Linked DNA regions of Homo sapiens: region 2 is linked to region 1. Evidence: promoter capture Hi-C in human tissues and cell types (Jung and others, 2019). All regions are on one chromosome and are shown on one strand. Each heading gives the region's core, a stretch centred on a gene start or on the middle of the fragment in contact. The rest is flanking DNA. Distances are from core to core; before and after follow the strand shown. Region 1 holds the start of RPS6KB2 (ribosomal protein S6 kinase B2). Region 2 holds the start of NDUFV1 (NADH:ubiquinone oxidoreductase core subunit V1).

The links. Contacts are between HindIII fragments. The study calls those that stand out against the background at their distance.
Region 2: the fragment with the promoter of NDUFV1 here is called in contact with the fragment with the promoter of RPS6KB2 in region 1 in 1 of the 25 tissues and cell types used here (liver).

Annotation. Positions count from the first base shown.
Region 1 is chr11:67,426,058-67,429,743 of GRCh38, forward strand. It overlaps RPS6KB2 (ribosomal protein S6 kinase B2), which reads left to right and starts at 2,437. Exons shown (of 15, transcript NM_003952.3): 1 at 2,437-2,566; 2 at 2,925-2,965; 3 at 3,063-3,183; 4 at 3,470-3,538. The coding sequence starts at 2,489. RefSeq lists enhancers at 1,981-2,130, 2,147-2,914, 2,231-2,480, 2,915-3,682. The HindIII fragment of the contact is 10,585 bases long and covers 1-3,686 here.
Region 2 is chr11:67,604,628-67,608,185 of GRCh38, forward strand. It overlaps NDUFV1 (NADH:ubiquinone oxidoreductase core subunit V1), which reads left to right and starts at 2,309. Exons shown (of 10, transcript NM_007103.4): 1 at 2,309-2,449. The coding sequence starts at 2,378. NDUFV1-DT (NDUFV1 divergent transcript) reads right to left here and starts at 2,079. Exons shown (of 3, transcript NR_130935.1): 1 at 1,992-2,079; 2 at 1,266-1,384; 3 at 1-476. RefSeq lists enhancers at 233-918, 1,818-1,877, 2,258-2,387. The HindIII fragment of the contact is 16,538 bases long and covers 1-3,558 here.

The DNA.
Region 1 (3,686 bases), core at 1,187-3,686:
CACTCTTGCTGCCCAGGCTGGAGTGCAATGGCACAGTCACGGCTCACTGAAACCTCTGCCTCCCGGGTTTAAGTGATTCTTCTGCCTCAGCCTCTCAAGTAGCTGGGATTACAGGCACCCACCACCACACCCAGCTAATTTTTGTATTTTTAGTAGAGACGGGGTTTCACCATGTTGGCCAGACTGGTGTCGAACTCCTGACCTCAAGCGATCCACCCGGCTCGACCTCCCAAAGTGCTAGGGTTGCAGGTGTGAGCCACCGCGCCCCGCCAAATCCATACCCAATCTAAAGTCACAGACCACATGTCACAGACAAGATTTGCTGTGTTGAGTGTGTTCATTCCTTCTTTCTTTTTTTTTCTTTTTTTGGAGACGGAGTCTCACTCTGTTGCCCAGGCTGTAGTGCAATGGCGTGATCTTGATTCACTGCAACCTCTGCCTCCCAGGTTCAAGCGATTTTCCTACCTCAGCCTCCCAAGTAGCTGGGACTATAGGCATGCACCACCACTCCCGGCTAATTTTTGTATTTTTAGTAGAGACAGGTTTTCACTATGTTGGTTAAGCTGGTCTTGAACTCCTGACCTCAAGTGATCCACCCGCCTTGGCCTCCCAAATTGCTGGGATCGCAGGCATGAGCGACCCTGCCTGGCCTAAGTTCATTCTGTCAACAGCGTTTTTGGTTTTTGCTGGGTGTAGTGGCTCATGCCTGTAATCACAGCACTTTGGAAGGCCAAGGCAGGAGGATCACTTGAGTCCAGAAGTTCAAGACCAGCCTCCTGGGCAACAAAACAAGACCTCCCCTCTAAAAAAAAAAAAAAAGAAAGAAAGAAAGAAAAGAAAAAAGATTATGTGATTATGTCATTCCAGTTACTTGGGATTTGAGGTGGGAGAATCACTGGAACCCAAGAAGTCAAGGCTGCAATGAGCCACGATCTTGCCACTGTACTCCAGCCTGGGTGACAGAGTAAGATCCTGTCTGAAAAACTAAACAAAACAAAGAAAAAAAAACCATAAAGTTTTTTTTTTTTTTTTTTTTTTTTTTTTTTTTTTTTTTAAGATGGAGTCTCGCTCTTGTTGCCCAGGCTGGAGTACAATGGCATGATCTTGGCTCACCGCAACCTCCGCTTCCCAGGTTCAAGTGATTCGCCTGCCTCAGCCTTCCCGAGTAGCTGGGATTACAAGCATGCACCACCATGCCCAGCTAATTTTGTGTTTTTAGTAGAGACGGGGTTTCTCCATGTTGGTCAGGCTGGTCCTGAACTCCCGACCTCAGGTGATCCGCCTGGCTCGGCCTCCCAAAGTGCTGGGATTACAGGTGTGAGCCACCGTGACCAGCCAGGTTTTCGGGTTTTATCTGTTTGAGACTTGGTCTCACTCTGCCGCCCAGCCTGGAGCGCAGTGGTGCAATCTTGGCTCACTGCAACCTCTATCGCCCGAGTTCAAGCGATTCTCCTGCCTCAACCTCCCGAGTATCTGGGAGTACAGGTGCGCGCCACCACACCCGTCTAATTTTTTGTATTTATAGTAGAGGCAGAGTTTCATCATGTTGGCCAGGCTGGTCTCCAACTTCTGACCTCAAGTGATCCACCCACCTCGGCCTCCGAAAGTGTTGAGATTACAGGTGTGAGCCACCGCCTCCGGCCTGTTTGTTTTTTTGAGACAGGATCTCACTGTGTCACCCAGCCTGGAGTGCAGTGGCACCATCATAGCTCACTGTAACCTTGAACTCCTGGCCTCAAGTGATCCTCCCAACTTGGCTTCCCAAAGTGCTACGATTACAGGCGTGAGGCATCGTGTCCGGCCTCAACAACGTTTTTTGAAGTGTCTATTCTGTACCAGGTGCCTAAATGTGCTTAAATTAAGAAGGGAGTAAACGCCAACAAAATCCCATATTTACAGGTCTATCACTGACCCCCAAAACCCTATTTAAGGCGGGAACCTGGCAACATAGCCTGGCAGTGAGCTGGCCACTCAGTAAATGCTCCGATTTGCAGGGTCCTCGAGCCAGAGGCACTTTGAGGAGACCCTGATGCAGCCGCCTCCCTTTCTGGAGTGAACCGAAAGCAACGCGACCTGCCTTTCATCACGCAGCCGGCCTGGCAGTACCCGTCTCCAACAGGGCTGGGGATTGCATTTACATTCACACCTGCATACACTTCCGACCCTGCTCCATCCAAACTCAAAACACCGTAGAACCAAAACGGGCTCCCAGAAAGCCTTGCTGGGAAGACCGAGGGTCCTGCGGAAAGGATTCTGCAGGCTGAAGGCTAGGCGCCTCGCCACTCTAGGACTACAATTCCCGAGAGGCCTTGCGACGGAAGCCATCTTTGTTCCCCACCAGGCTAAGCGATTTTCCGGAGGGGGAGTAAGATCCCTTGCGTCACCGGCGCGCGCAGCTGCCGTCGCGGAGAGATGATGTTTAGGTCCGGGACTGTCAGTCAGTGCGCGGCCAGGTACGGGCCGACGGGCCCGCGGGGCCGGCGCCGCCATGGCGGCCGTGTTTGATTTGGATTTGGAGACGGAGGAAGGCAGCGAGGGCGAGGGCGAGCCAGAGCTCAGCCCCGCGGTGAGTGCCCTGCCCTGGCGCGACTGGATCCTGGAGCCGATCCTGTCACCCAGCCGAGGCCGGAGCGGCGGCTCCGCACGCCCAGAGCGGGCTCCGACTCTTTGCAGACCCAGATCCTTCTCAGATCCCGGTCTCTATTAAGTTCTGATCCCACCCTCACCCCGACCTCTCTTCCAGAACCCCAGCCTTTTCTCCCGATTCTCCCTTTCCTGCCTTCGGTTTCTTCCCAATTCTTACCCATCCCCTACTAGCTGCCATCCCTGACACCCTTCTCTCCTGGGCCACGCAGTCCAACCTGAACGGGAGCGGGGAGGTATCCTGGCACCTTCCTTGGCTCTTACCCCTCGGTTTCTCACAGGACGCATGTCCCCTTGCCGAGTTGAGGGCAGCTGGCCTAGAGTGAGTGAGGGTCGTGTTGGGGGAGGGGGGAATGGAGTGGGGAAGGGGAACTGGGGAGCACTGGAGCCTTGTCCTCATTAACTCCTTGTGTCCGTAGGCCTGTGGGACACTATGAAGAGGTGGAGCTGACTGAGACCAGCGTGAACGTTGGCCCAGAGCGCATCGGGCCCCACTGCTTTGAGCTGCTGCGTGTGCTGGGCAAGGGGGGCTATGGCAAGGTAGGGGCGGGCGCACCCTCCTCCTGGCCTCACAGCCTCCATCTGGAGGCAGCAAAGGGTTCTCAAAACAAATTAGACTTGTGAATCAGCAGGGCCTCTAATGGGATTCAGAGCCAGAAACATAAAGGAGGGAAGGCCAAATCCTCTCCAATCGGACTTGAAATCTTCACTGCCCCACCCTTGGCAGGGCCTAGGCCTCCTGATCCCAAAGCCAGAGCTTCAGGGTGGGGCTTCTTGAAGATAGGATGTGGAGAGGGAAGTTGATCCTGTCTCCCCTGCCCTACAGGTGTTCCAGGTGCGAAAGGTGCAAGGCACCAACTTGGGCAAAATATATGCCATGAAAGTCCTAAGGAAGGTGAGTCACTCGTTCAGCCAACGAATACTGTGTGGCTGCCATTCCCAACATGCTGTACCAGGCTTTGGGAAGACAGCAGGGAACACAGTGGAGGAGGATCCCTGACTTTGGCGTTTGCTGGTTTATTGTCTGTTGTGATGTGTATTGT
Region 2 (3,558 bases), core at 1,059-3,558, 180 kb after region 1:
GTTCCATGTTTGCAGAGAAGGGGCTGGAGGAGCCAAGATGTGAGGGTGGGAGGCCCCAAGGATACATTGTTAATTTCAGGTGAGAGATGACAGGGCCACAGCCATCTATCACTGTGCAGGGAATGTTTGGAAGGTAAAGTTGACCAGATAGACACAGTGGATGTGGGGCCAGTGGGACAGGGAGGAGCCCTTGATACCTCTTGGCTTGTGGCCTGGAGGCTGGCTGGGGAGGCTGATATACAGAGTGACACAGGATGGGATGGGTGCTGAGGAGGTGAGAGCCAGGACCTGAGATGCTGCAGAGAAGGCTCCTGGGAGATGACATCAGAGTGGATCTCCTTCTTCGCTTGAGAAGCCTGGCAAGTAGGTGCTCCAGTGGGTGGGGACCAGTGGGGGATTTGTTGTTAGGAGACCTCAGGCCGAGTTCTGGCAGTTGTGTCATCCTGGGCAGGCCACTCAGCAATGCTGATACCCTGCTTCTGAAAACAGGGCTCATCATTCCTGAGGCTGGAGTTTTGGAGGATTAAGGAGGTAACACATGGCAAGTGCTTGGCCCAGAGCCTGGCACTGAATGAACAGAGGATCCTTCCCTCACTCTCCGTTTTCCATCCCCCCTCATGCCCAGCATCTCCTGTCCCCAGCATCCCCAACCTGCATCTCCCTCAGCCTGTATTCCTTTGACCCAGTTAGAGACAGATGAGGAAGGAATCCACCCGCTGGGCTGGCTCTGACCTGCCCCCCTTCTTCTGCCCCAAAGGGAGGGATCCGAGGACTCAGGTCTGAGCCCGGATTAGCTGTGTAATCCCCAGCTTTGCCTAGGCAACCTCTTTCCCTGACCAAGAGAGGGGGCCTGCGGCTGGCAGCCAGGACTCCTGGGCTCTGGGCCTGATACTACTCTATCTGTCTGGGAAACCTCAGACAGGGAAGAGATTTCTTGGTGCCTCTCTTGGGAATGTCACTGACGTCCACAGTGACTGTCACATGCGTGTCAGTTGTTCTGTGGGTTTGCTGTGTGCGGGGCACTGTGGAAAGGAAGAAAGGCCTAGATTCCAGTCCAGCTCCACCACTCAGCAGCTTCATGCCCACAGACAAAGGACAAAATCCCCCTGAGCCTCAGTTTTTTCGTGGACAAAATGGAGTGAACACCTTGTGGGGCTGCTGTGGGGTATGTGAGAAAATAGCTGCAAAGGAGTTTTGTAAACAGCACGTTTTAGAGAGATCAGGAAGGATGATTACAGCACAAAAGAACAGAGATGGTTCCTCACCATGAGGACTGGAAAAGAGCTGGGGAGAGCAGGCCAAAAAGGTCACTCTTATCACGAGGACCACAGCAGAGGGTTCCAGGAAACTGAAAAAGACGAGTTCATCAGGCTTCCAAGACCTCCTGGGAAGGCAAAGGACAGAGGGACCTCCTCAGGTCAGGGGAAAACCGAGGGAGGGGGACAGCCACACAAACGCCCTAAAGTCTAATGACGGCAGAAAGGGGTCTTGGGGGACGGGGGTGGGGTTCACAGCAGTGGCCTGGGCGTGATGACCCTGGCGAAGGACGGGGTCGCAGAGCCCTTAAATCCTGGACCAGTGGCTGATTCCAAAAGCAGCAGGGACCATGCCAGGATTTTGGGCAGAAGCAGAAAGTGCTGGACTCTCCTGACAAGAGCTGAGAGAACTCAGCGGCGCCAGCAAGAGTTTGTGCCGTGCACTGACCATCTGCATCCTCTCTGCCTCACCCCAGCCTAGGATTCCGTGACAGGCCCTCTGGGAAGAACTCCGCGAACAACCCCCTGCCTTGGAGTCTGCAATCCTTCCTCGAGCACACGGACGCCCGGGGTGGGGAAGCCCACAGTCTGGCAGGGCTCGCACTGGGCAGAATAATTGCAACGTAGTCATGAGGATCGGGCTATGACCTGCCTGACTTTTCACTCCTCCCATGATACACCGATGCATACCGCAGGTGCACACTAAACGCCGAATCTATAGAAAGTGGAACACACCAGGACCCAGCAGAAGGCGACATGCGAGGTTTGTTTACTTGTGGCATCAAAGGCTGGGAGCCGGCGAGCTAAGGAGGGAGCGAAAGAGCGAGCGGTGGGGACAGCCACCGCTAAATGCCAGCCCGGTGGAGGGAGGAAGGCGGACCCCAGGCCGGTGGGACCACATCTCCCAGAAGCCCCGGCGCCAAGGCACTGGCCTCTCAGTCCTCCCCCGAGGAGGCGGGGCCGCTGGCGAAGTTGAAGGGGCGCAGCGATACCGGTGCGCGGCGCTGGCGTCGGGCGCGTGACGTCTTTCCTGCGCGCCACCTAGCGTCTCTATCGCGCCAGTTCCTCAGCCTCAGTGCTATGAAGGTGACAGCGTGAGGTGACCCATCTGGCCCGCCGCGATGCTGGCAACACGGCGGCTGCTCGGCTGGTCGCTTCCCGCGCGGGTATCTGTGCGTTTCAGCGGCGACACGGTGAGGCCCAGCCTGGCTGGGGCCACGGGTGTTTGGGGCCGGGTGTCGCGGCCGCGCCCGTGCACGAGCAGTCCCTGGGGTCTGTAGTGGCCTCTGGAGAGCCCTTCTCCCCAGGCCAGGCGGGAAGGCCCCCGCTCCGGCCTGGTTGAAGTAGGGGAACGGGTCCCAACGCGGGGCCGACTCCCTTGACCCTCTGACTTGCTGGCTTCCCTTGTTTTACAGTCCTCGGCCTGGCGGAAGTTTTGCAGGTTGTGAAGACCCCTAGTCTTTCATTCTCTCCTTGTCACAGCCTTGTAGGGCGTGAAGGGGTCATTGCCCCATTTAGGGATGCGCACCTCCTGATTTCCCGTCCACTGCTCTGCGCCCTGAAGTGGCTGAAAAGTGCTCTTAAAAGGATGGGAATCCCGTCGCCCTCAGCTGGTGCGCTCTCCACTGGGTCGTGGGGCTCCTCATTTCATCCTAAGTGAGCCCCTCCATCACCTGTGTGTTAAGGAGGCATTTCTTTCCCATCAGTAAACACATTTCGCCTCTTCGGCCGAGGTAGGAATATAAAAGGCCCCTGGCCTACCCAAGTTTTGGTCCAGCAGGGGAGCCAGGCCGGGAAAGGGCCAAGCTGCCACACTCGGCTTGTGGGGCTGTGTGGTGCCGTGATGCAGCTGTGGGTTTGGCCACCGACAGACCTGGGCTCAAATTGGACCTGCTGCTTTTGACTGTGAGACCTTCCATAAGCTCCTTTTGCTCCAAGCCTCAGTTTTCTCCTCTGTGAAACAGAGAAAATCGTTCCTATCAGAGTTCTTATGAGGATGAAATGGGATTTTGGATGTAAAATGCTTCCATCCAGTACCTGCTAAACAAAATGCTTACTAATGGCCGGGCGCGGTGGCTCACGCCTGTAATCCCAGCACTTTGGGAGGCTGAGGCGGGCGGATCGCTTGAGGTCAGGAGTTCGAGACCAGCCTGGCCAATATGGTGAAACCCTGTCTCTACTAAAAGTGCAAAAATTACCCGGGCGTGGTGGTGAGTGCCTGTAATCCCAGCTATCCAGAGGCTGAGGCACAAGAATTATTTGAACCTGGGAGGTGGAGTTTGCAGTGAGCTGAGATTACGCC